Regions from separate parts of the Homo sapiens genome. Here region 1 is linked to region 2. The links are contacts of gene promoters, found by promoter capture Hi-C in blood cells and fetal thymus (Javierre and others, 2016). All regions are on one chromosome and are shown on one strand. Each heading gives the region's core, a stretch centred on a gene start or on the middle of the fragment in contact. The rest is flanking DNA. Distances are from core to core; before and after follow the strand shown. Region 1 has its middle 11 kb from the start of OR10D3. Region 2 holds the start of ZNF202 (zinc finger protein 202).

Region 1 (5,961 bases), core at 2,701-5,200, 450 kb after region 2:
AAGGACTCTTTCTCCTGCATTATTGGAGCGCATGCAGCAACCTCATGGCAGGACTAAGACTGGATCAGAACTCTAGTTTCTCTGCCCTACATTATGTGAATTATACCACTTAAACTTTTTGCAAATGTGAGTGAATCATGTTATATTTTGTTACATACTACTTGTTATATGTTTAAGATCATACATAACATGGGCTCTTAATTTTCCAAACTTAAATGAATCATGCTAAGCCCCTGTGCATGCTAACCTACTTATGTATTAGTGATAGTAGACACTGAAGCATAAGCCACAGGAAAATCGAGCATCTCTTTTAAAACACATTCCCAACTCATGATAATCCCCACAGAGGATCAGATAAAGAGATGCTCAGTTTTATCAAGTGGAAAGTCTCATAGTCAGCAAGATATGGTTGACACTTATGCTCATAAGACACATGACCAGGAGGGTACTGAAAATCTCAAAGTCATCTGCTCACAGATCCAATGATCATTATCACAGAGCTTCTTTAAACTACCAAACCTCTCCCATCAGTGGTCTGAATCCTCAGATCTACTGGTTTATTTCCCAGTCCACTCTGTCAAAATTGTTCTTTCTAGCATCCTCCAAATAAATAAACACGAAGGCTCTTTCCTCCTAGATTCCATGACACCACCCAGTGATGGCTGCTCTCCACCTCTTTCATCAGATCTGTTCTGTAGCTTTGCTTACTTCTGTGGGAAGTTTGCTGCATACTTCAGGACTTGATCCTTCCCCCAAAACTTCATCTAATGAAATTATTCACTTCATGATTCTTAGTTGTGACCCATACACTGTTCATTTCTCCTTGAGCTCATGGGCAGGGTCTCCGGATAAATCTTAGATATTATGAAGAAAAATACCTGGATCTAAGTCTGCTTTGTTATGGGGAAAATTATGAGAGTAATTCTACTTATCTCATGGAACCGTTGTGAAAATTACATAAGAAAGTATATCATCAATCAACAAGTGAATAAAGAAAAGGTTATATATATATATATACACACACATATACACACACACACACACACACCGTGAAATGGTGTATATACAGTATACACTATTGTATATATACAATGGAATATACTACTATATTATATATTATATATATTTTATATATTATAATTATTATATATAATATATATAATATATATAACATATATATATCATGAAATACTACTCAGCCCCATAAAAATAAATGAAATAATGGCATTCGCAGTAACCTGGATGGAATTGGAGACTATTATTCTAAGTGAAGTGACTCAAGAATGGAAAATCAAACATCACATGTTCTCATTCATATGTGGGAGCTAAGCTATCAGGATGCAAAGGCATAAGAACAATGAATTGGACTTTGGGGACTCAGGGTAGGGGGTGGTGAGGGATAAAAGACTACACACTGGATACAGTGTACACTGCTCGGGTGATGGGTGCACCCGTCATCACCCATCAGCACTCTCAGAAATCACCACTAAAGAACTTACTCATGTAACCAAACACCACCTGTTCTCCAAAAACCTATTGAAATAAAAAAGCTAAAAATTTTAAAAAGAAAGCAAATAAATGCAAGATTGTGAGATGTCTTATCATTTTAAAAAATAATGAAGTAAAAGGCAATACAACTATTCAAACAATTATGTAAATAAATTCTGTTTTGCATTTTAAAGAGAGAGAGAGAAAGAGGGAAATAGAGTTTCTCAAAGGAGGAAGTCTTTATACGTAACAGATTCACTGAGGTTAAGCTCTCTTTTGAGTATAGCTCAAGAGTGGAAGGGCCTGACTAGTTAGGTTTTGTTTTGGTCCCGCCACCTTAAATAATTAATCCCGGGTGAGAGTAGTCAACCCTGTTCCTCAATAGGGCATTTCAATACCTTTTTCTTTTAAATTTTAAACCACAGTCATCTAGTTACAAATATTTCTGAAAAAAACTAACCTAATTGCTTATATTTCTCAATCATGATTTCATTTCTGTAATTTCACTTTGTTTTTTTAACTGCTGCCAGTTTTGCCATATAAAACATTGACAAAATCATTTTGCTCTCTTGCTAAAAATTTCTTTGGTATGTTTCCATTTCCTATTGATGTCAAGGCTGACTATATTGAGTTTAACATTTGAAGCTTTTTAACATCTGGTTCTGATCTCTGTCACCAATTTTATTCCTATTTCTCTTTTATTTTTGACTTCTCCACAAGCCAACTCAAACTCCTTTGTAATTTTCCAAACCAACGCTGACAACATGGTCTGGATTCTCCAGTTCAGTCCTAAATTAAGCTATTCTGTTGCCGTGTTAGGCCATGTTTCTCACATTGTGCTCTATCGTGGATCCTGAATTTTGGTGTATTTCTCACATATTCCCTGCTTTTGATGACTCTGAGTCCTAGTCTTCATGTGGCCTCTGTTTGGGATGTCAGTTTCGTTGTTCTCCATAGGACCAAATTATGCTCATTTTTCAGGACACCATCCAAACATTGTTTTCTTGCCAAAGCTTTCCTTAATGCTCCAAGCTAAAAGAAATGTTTCTCCTTTGAAATCTCATTTTCTTTGGAAGTACATATACTCTTGACAAATACCACCCATCTGAGAAAAAACAGTATGAGTGAAGTGAAATAGGATGACCATAGTTTTTAACTAAACAGAATACAAAGATCTAGAAATTTATATGAAATAGTAAGACCAGAGTCAACCTTACAGTAGTAGATCTGATGTTCAGTTTCAGCAAGTTTGTAATGAGAGTTTGAAGTACACTCACAAACTCTGATAAGTAGTTACATTTATGATGACATGAAAACTCAAGACATTTATTGCTAACTGATCCATAGTGGTTGTGACAATTGGGGAACAAAGGTCACCCCTAAGACAATATATACTCAATATGTCTCAACTGTATGCTTCATTTTAGAGAACAGCAATCTTTGATAATTTTTCATATAGTTCTAGTTATAGCTGTGCATTTAGATAAAGGGAAGTAGTAAACATACAGGGTATGTTAGATTTTAGAATTGTATATTGTAAATTCGTAATGAATCTGAGAATATGAATTTGCCACTCCTGGTCATAAGAATGTTTTCTTGTTTTGATTCTTAGCAACCTAGGAGCTGAAAAACTTGGAATTTCCCTTTGACGGATATGCCAGTAATAGGATTTAATCCCCTCCCTCTTTAGAGTCTCATGTTCCTGTAATATGAGAAAAGGGGTGACTGCATTGGGCTCCGTGCCTCTGGGCAAGCTCTCTATCACAACATGGGAATGTTAAGCGCATAACCTACCAAACTGAAAGCAAGTCACTGGGCACAGTCTCCATTGCAAGTCCCGGAGGGTGGAAGGGAGGTCTGATCAAGAATGAGAAACTTGCTTTTGTCCTCTCCTTGCCTTTTTGGCTGTGATCCAAAAGAAGGACATGCAGGCTCTCCTAGAATCTTCAAATCATCCCTAGTTCTTCTGATCTTTTCCCCGGTCTCTGTCCCTGCACTAATATGACAGCCATGGTCCCTATCTCCTATTTAGTCTATATTAGCTCTACAGATAGGATTCTGGCAGCATGTTAGTTATGTGATGCAGTCTAAGAAGTCAGTAGCTGGACAACAAATTGTGCCAGCCTGGAGGCCACATGATAATCCGTATTCTGCAAACTGTGCTCTATCGCCCCCTGATGGACATAGGATCATCTCCAACCTTAGCACAGAACGACCAGTTCTCCTTGGCTTTAGGGGTAATCATGATGTGTGCTTTTGGAAGGGCAGGGACAGAAGAGGAAATTTGTTTTACAAGTTCATTGGTAATTTGGAAGAAATGACAACCTCTGCATAGATATTTACACGCAGAGTAGATCTGATCATGTTAATTCCCATGCATTAAAATATTTTATGTCTCCTTACTAACTTTAGAGTAAAATCTACTCTAATATGATATACAATGATTTTTATAATCTGTCTGTATCTCAGTGCCCAGTCTCATGGCCTTGTCCATTTTTCCCATCAGGCCTTACACTCTAAACTCACCAAATTATTTGTCATTTTTCCAAAACTAACTATATCAAACTTTGGTATATTTGGATAGGCTGTTTCCACTCTCTGGGATGCAATTCATTGTTTTCAAAATCTGTCAAAATTCTCCTGCAAAAAGTCTGACTTGATACTGGTGAGAAGACATAGGCTATGCTTCCTCTGTATTCTAATTTTAGATGATAAATACCGTAATATTTCACCTTACATTACATTGCACTTTCCAGGCTGTGTTTCTAATTTCTACGTATGTTATACTTCACATATGCTGAAGGGACTCAATTAAAAGAAGATAAACTATACATACATTATCAAATAATGGAGAAGATATAATTTATATTTCAAAATATAAAATATATTCCAAAATATAAAATTTTTCGAACAATAGTATACAAAATTACATGTAGGTTTAAAATTGAATCGAACATGTAGAAACATATCAACATGATCATTTCAAACATGTAATGAAATAAGTTACAATTAATGCAAAGAAAATTGAACTAATAAATATAGATCCTTAATGTGACTATTAATTTTGAAAAATATAGTATACAATGTGACATGATGATACCATTTTATATCTACTGAATAAGCAAACTAATATTAAATAGTAAATAATCAAACTATATATTAACAAAGCTACAGAAGCCCCACAACATTTTTACACTACTGGTAGCATTTATTGATTTATGTGTTCATTCCAGGAGTATTTATTATCTATTCTATGTTTTGTATAGTGACAGGAGTTGAATTTACAAGTCCAACAAGGCATTTACCCTACCCCTGAAGGTGATGATTGCAACAATATATGAACACGCAGGATTTTATGACAGCACTTAAGAGGAATACCTGTCTCAAAATGGGGAGAGATATGAGAAAAAAACATGCAATAAGGGAATAAATATTAAATTTTATAACAGATAATAAAAGTCAGCTCTGCAAAAAAAAAAAAGTCATGGAGGAAGAAAAAGAGCAGGATTTGTGAAAGTACAAAGGAATAAAGCAGCATGGTTCATTCAGAAGTTTAAAACACATTGGTAACATCCTTCAGAAAAGGAACTTTTAAATACAAATAAGATAAATTGATATGTTTATATACTTTGGCCCTAGGAGTCTAATATTGAGAAATTATTCTAAAGGAAAAATATATGTAATGCCAATTCATTTCAAATGGCAAGAACAATGGCATTTAAATATTCAGATATGGATAACATTAGGCAAAATATAATGTGTTGACTTAATAAAACATATGGTCATTATTATTGGCTATCAAAATTATTTTAGCAGCATGGAAAAAGGATTATAGAATAATTTAAGTTAAAAGAACAAAATAGTACATTTCTCTTACTAGGTCTTAAAGATAGTCTCTTGTATTCTTTTCTAGAAGCTTTATAGCTTAATTTTCTCTGTATCTATGACCCATCTCAAATTAATTTTTGTTTGTGGTCTGGAGTAAAGATTGATGTTCATTTTGTCCCCATGTGAATATTCAGTTGTTTCAGCATAATTTGTTTAAGAGACATCTTTTCCTACTGAGCTGCTATGAGGTTTCAGTCGAAGAATGATGGGTGGGGCTACTTTGGACTTTCTCTTCTATTTCTTTGATCTGTCTATTCTTATGTCAATTTCACATTGCATTGATTATGGCAACTTTACAGATAATCTTTTTTTCCTTTGTCGGTTTAAAAACATTTTATTTTATAGGCATACAATTTTAATTGCCTATATTTCAGGTGTATAACATCATGTTTTGTTATCCTTGTACGTAAACACAGTGAAATGATGACTACAGTGAAGCAAATCAACATTTCTTCACATTTACTTTTGTTTGTGTAAAAGGACCTGAAATCTACCATCTTGGCAAATTTACAGGATAAAATATGTGATATGCACATTAGTCTTATTTATCCTACATAACTGCAACTTTGTACCCTTTGACCTACA
Region 2 (5,966 bases), core at 43-2,542:
GTTCACACGCTTCCCACCAACAAACCTCCTCCCAAGGCTATCCCACAACCTTTCTGAAGTAGCTTCCTGGATCAAGCCCCACGGGGCAGCTTGGAAGAGAAGCTGGGAGGGATGAGGGGCTCCACTAGCATTCCTTGTGGCTTCTGAGTGTAGCTGCCCTGGGTGTCACCTGCAGAGCGTGGATAGAGAAAAAGCAACAGTTCTAAGCCCAGCCTCTAATTGAGAGCCTGGGATCTAGCGCTGCTCCCCAGGACCAAGGTTGTTCAAGAAAGGCTGGGTCTAAGAGTCTCCCTCTGGGGAGGTCAGTACAGATTCCAAGGCAGACAGGGTTATCAAAGCGCCTAGAAGATGAGAACATTCATTGTTCAGAAAAACAAAAATTAGACTGACACCTTTCTGAAGGAACACAGCCTATCCATGGCACAAAAACAAATTTTTAATCAAGACACTCAAGAAGTAGGTATACTCCTGCTAAAAGTAACGCAGGTGCTGAGAAGAGGTGCCAAAACTGGCTGTTAGGAGTGGGAGGAGAGGAAAGTTGCAAGTGGAGACAGCAGCTACTGGCTTGAGGGGACCTCAGGGTCTGTCACAGTGGCAGCTGAAAAGCCTCTGGCCAAATGGACGCCAAGGACTACTATCATCACAGGTGACAAGATCACGGGTGAGTGTATCTGGGTGTGTGCTGGGGGGCTGAGGGGGGCTTGGTGGTGTAAGGAGATGGGGCTAGCCGGGGCAAGGAGCCCGCGGAGATGATCTTAAGCAATCTGAGAGGAGGGGTAAGAAAAAGCTGCGGAAAATAAAGGGGCCTAGACCACTCCTCCCTCGGTTCCGGGGGGACAGTTGGCGCGGAAGCGTTAGGAGGTACGAGGTACGGACTAACTACATTTCTGCAGGCCCCAGGAGGGGGCGGAGGGCGGTGGCTGGAAAGGAAAGGAAGCCGGGAGCGCCATCCGTGTCCCCGGAGATACTGGCTCCGGCCACCAGGAAACACAGAGACCACAACGTCTCGGCACCCTCAGTACACCGCCGCCACCCCTTCCCCAGGACACGGCGATTTCCCCAGACTCTGGGGGGCGGGGTCTCCGGTCCCTCCCCCTCCTCCCCGCCCTGCCCGGCTCTGCCCGATCTGGTCCGGCCCGGTCCAGCCCGGCCCGGCCCAGCCCAGCCCACTCAGGACTCACGGCTCCGACAGCTCCGGCGGCTCCTCCCCTGCCCCGGCTTCTCTCCCACCCACTCCCGACCGAAACAGCGCCGCCGGATCCGAGCCGCGCGGGGCCTAGCGGGTCGGAACACGTGGGGCCTTTGCGCCCGGAACCGGAAGCGATCGCTCGCCCCGCCTTCTCGCCGAGTAGGAGCCTTTCTAGGCTGTGGGAGGTTTGATCCTCTCTATGCGCCCTCCGCGGGTTGCGGCTCAGTGCTCCCCAAGGACCCAGTGCGAAGAAGCCTCGGACCCCACAGCTGCCGTCCGCGACCCCTAACTCCACTCTGCAGCGAATAAATTAACATCTTGGGCCTTTCATTTACAGGCATACCTTCTGCAAGGGTTTTCTTTTTCTTTTCTTTTTTCTTTTCTGTTTTTGATCTTTTGTGTGTTTGTTTTCATTTGGATACCTCTACGTGTTTTTCTTGATTTTTTTTTCTTTGCATTGTCCGCTGCAACATGGTAGAAAAGGGCAGCGTTAGGTTTGAATACTGGCTCTTGCAGTCACCATCAGCAGCAGGGCCTCGGCCGAATCTCTCCATCTTTGAACCCTATTGTGCATCATATAAAACGGGCATAATAATACCGTTACTCTGAGGACTAAATGATACATTGCACATGAACTGAATGGAACATCAGAAGCTCAGAAAGAAAATAGTTATGGTATCACTGTTCTTTCTTTTCCTTTGAGTGTTGCTTCGTATTTCTTTACTTTCAGGCTGTCTTCCCTGATCTCATTTGTTCATTTTTGTCCGTTCGGTGACCTTTCTGCCCATACTTGACATTTTCCTTTGCTCTCTGTCCCTTTTACCCTGTAAGTCACCACTCTCCACGTGCCATGTGCCACTTCCTTTTCATGGGACACATTGCTGGGATCTGTTTACTGGGTTTGAACCAAAGGATTAGTTACTTTTGGTGGAGTGGCAGTGTATTAGCGAAACAGAACTAATAGGTGTGAACCCAGAAGGCAGGACAACTCAAAGCGGGGAGGGGGCTTCCAGGTCATAGGTAGATAAGACACAAATGGTTGCATTGAGTTGCTGATTAGCCTCTCCGGAAGGAGGCAATCAGATATGCATTTATCTCAGTGAGCAGAGAGGTGACTTTGAATAGAAGGGGAGGCAGGTTTGCCCTAAGCAGTTCCCAGCATGAATTTTCCCTTTAGTGATTTTGGGGGCCCCAAATCACTTTCCTTTCACACGGGGTATGTATAAACATATAAAAGGAGATTTATTATAAGGAGTTGGCTTACATAATTATGGACGTTGAGAAGTCCCACCATCTGCTTACTGCAAGCTGGAGAAATAAGGAGGTTGGTGGTATAATTCAGTCTAAAGCTGAAGGCCTGAGAACTGGAAAGGGATTGAGGTGCTGGTGTCTGAAGGCCAGAGAGCAGGAGGAGATGATGTCCCAGCTCAAGAAGAGAGAGGTGAATTTACTTTTCCTCTGCCTTTTTATACTATTTGGGCCCTCAATGGATTGGATGGTGCCTACGCATAGTGGTGAGAGTGATTTTCTTTACTCAGTCTACTGATTCAAATGCTAATCTCTCTCTCTTTTTTTTTTTTTTTTTTTTTTTTGGACAGAGTCTTGCTCTGTCGCCCAGCGATCTCGGCTTACTGCAATGTCTGCCTCCTGGGTTCAAGCAATTCTCCTGCCTCAGCCTCCCGAATAGCTGGGATTACAGGCATGTGCCACCATGCCCAGCTATTTTTTTTTTGTGTGTGTGTATTTTTAGTAGAGAGGGGGTTTCACCATATTGGCCAGAAACACCCTCACAGACACACCGACTAATAATGTTTTCTGTTGTCTGGGCATCCCTTAGCTAGTCAAGTTGACACATAAAATTACCCAATACAAAGAGAAATATACATTTCATGAAAGCCTACTGTGTACCAAATATTTTTCTCTGTAAATCTCATTGAATATTTTAAAATATTGGTATTAAGTGCATAAATAATACATAAACATCTTCTTCTAAACATTTAATGCATTACAGTGTTAAAGGAAAAATTATTCAGTGATACTTGTTAGAGCATGGTAAGGGAGACCTTATTCAGGACCAGGAAAGGTAAAGAAACCACTGCAATGAAGTCTTGCTGTAGGGATGAGAGATTGGGCTGAACTCTGAATACAGAATGGGCAAGTGGGAATTTATAGTCAAGGAACTTTTTTTGGAGTTTGGGACGTCGATGGATTGAAAATTACTAAGGGGAAACATCAGGCTTAAGGCGGATTCTGGCTAAGTCAACCTAATAGGATTCTTGCTGAAGACAGGCCAGGTTGATCAGACATCACCTGGGGCGTGATGGAGGATGAGGACACTGACCAGGTATTAAGGATGGTCAGATATCAAGGATGGGGGCGTTCCTGCCAAAGGACTTAGAGTTCTTTGCTAACAGTAGATTTTACAAGGAAGTACGCCGATAGCCCTAGGAGAAGTTTCAGAAGCCTGACAAGTTTGGCGAAGAAAAGAGATTTTGTCAATGGATAAAGCTAATGACTTTTTTTTTTTTTTTGGGACGGAGTCTCACTCTGCCACCAGGCTGGAGTGCAGTGGCACCATCCCGGCTCACTGCAACCTCGACCTCCCGGGTTAAAGCGATTCTCCTGCCTCAGCCTCCCGAGTAGCTGAGACTACAGGCATGCACCACCATGCCCAGCTAATTTTTGTATTTTTAGTAGAGATGGGGTTTCACCATGTTGGCTAGGATGGTCTCAATCTCTTGACCTCCCGATCCACCAGCCTCAGCCTCCCACAAGTGCTGGGATTACAGGCATGAGCCACCATGCCTGGCCGCTAATGACATTTTTACCAACCCTGGCTTCCTCCTCTCTCTCCAGAAGTTAGCTGTTCTTATGACCCTAATGTATTTATCTTCCAGATATTTTTATTTTCATGTGCTGTGTACATATGTATCCACAGAAAGTACATAGTATTATTTTCTGTGTACTTGTGTGTATACCTGTGTGTTCATGTTGAATTCTTCCATTTGTTTTCTCTTAGCAGTGGGCCTTGGAGATCTGTTGATAGCGGTAAATAAAAATCTCCCTTATTCCTTCTGCTTTCTGCATAACATTCCATAGTCTGAATAGCAATTTGCCTGTTGAAAACATAAGTTTTTATAATTGTTGGGATTACAAACAATGCTATAATGATCACCCTCTTTGTGCGTACATGCAATGGTACTCTGAGACGGATACTGAGAAAGAGTATTGCTGGGTCAAAGGTTGCACACTTTTAATGAATACTGCCAAGTTTTCCTCCCAAATGAATGCACCTGTTTACACCCTTAACAACAGTATACAAGATTTTTTCCCTGTATCCATGCCCTTACCTCATGTTGCCGGAATTGTAAATCTCAGCCAGTTTAATGGGCAAAAATAATATCTAATTGTTTTACTTTGCCTTCCCATCGTTAATGGTGAGACTGAACTTTCTTTCATACATTTGTTGGTAATTTGTAGTTTTCCTGTGAGTTTTATTTTTATATTGGACTTTTTGTTTTTTTAAATTGGTTGTTAGATGTTCTTTATGTATCCTAGATCCTAATGATTTTACGTATATATTGCAAGAGATATATTAATTTTATGTGTCTTGACTAAGTTCATGAAAGCCTGCTGTGTATAAGATGTTTTTCTCTATAAATCTCATTGAATATTTTTAAATATTAATATTAAATTAATGTTTTCCTTAACTTTCTAGATTATTGTCTAACTTTGTAGTATTAAAGTTTCAAATCTGATACACTCTTTCCCCCGCTTCAAATTAGGTGTTTTATTTAAGAATATCTTTTCTGCACCAAAGTCATAAAGGCTTCTCCTGTATGTTCTTCTACTACTTTTTGCTTTTCCTTTTTATGGTTAGATTTGGAATTTATTTTTGTGAATGATATAAATTGGGGATTCTAATCTAATATCAGTGGTAATCAATTTCTACTTGGAAAACATGGAGTATGAGATATTTACATAATAGAGGATATATTTACATACAAAAGATATATTCCATATGTGATGTGATCAGAATTCTGTCAGCGCAGTTAGCTGGTCCTTCATTTGTCAATGATTTTTTGAGTGACTGCTCTTACAAGACACTGTGGTAGGTATATGGAACAGAATGGAGAATAAGAAAGACGTAATATCTGTTCTCGATCTAACTTTCAACTGGTGTGTGTGTGTATGATATGAAGGAGTTGGGGAAGAAGAAAACAGTTTAAATAACTTACGCAATTCACTAACTGTGGTTATTTAATTATGATTAATTAAATTAATTATAATTATTGTAAGTTCTCCAGAGAAATACAGAGTGCTACAAGAACTTGTTACTGGAGGTCCTAATCCTGGTGGTGGTGCTGTTAGAGAGGTAGTTAGGGAAAGCTTTCTTGAATAGTGACATTTGAACTGAGTCTGTGGAATGCCTGGGCAGGATGAGCCTGGGGGTGAGGTTGGGAGATGGGGTATAAACCAAAAAGTGTCTGAGACAGACCTCAATTGATTTAGAGGTTTATTTTGCCAAGGTTGAGGATGCACCGTGGAAAAGTAGACACAAGTTGCAGTAGGATCTGTGGCCTGTGCTTTTTCCAAAGAGGACTTCAATATTTAAAGCAGAAAGAGCAGGCAGGAGAGGAAGGAGGAAAGAAGAAAAAGGGGAGGGTAGGCACCTAGCAAGAAGTCCCATTCTTGTGAAGCTCTGACCAGTGCTCAGCAATCCACATTTTACATCTGAAAAGAAAGTAGTGGGGACAAAGTCAATTATGCATAGATC

The links. The method cuts DNA at HindIII sites, captures the fragments that hold promoters and counts their contacts. A CHiCAGO score of 5 or more calls a contact.
Region 1: a contact is called between a fragment that was not itself captured here and the fragment with the promoter of ZNF202 in region 2, in 1 of 17 cell types (monocytes). The highest score is 6.2, in monocytes.

The regions. Positions count from the first base shown.
Region 1 is chr11:124,191,656-124,197,616 of GRCh38, forward strand. No RefSeq gene overlaps it. Among named protein-coding and RNA genes, the nearest start is that of OR10D3, 11 kb to the left of the region's middle. The HindIII fragment of the contact is 2,903 bases long and covers 2,500-5,402 here.
Region 2 is chr11:123,740,368-123,746,333 of GRCh38, forward strand. It overlaps ZNF202 (zinc finger protein 202), which reads right to left and starts at 1,293. Exons shown (of 9, transcript NM_003455.4): 1 at 1,182-1,293; 2 at 50-169. RefSeq lists enhancers at 679-888, 1,878-2,475 and silencers at 1,069-1,198, 1,239-1,288. The HindIII fragment of the contact is 6,844 bases long and covers 1-5,576 here.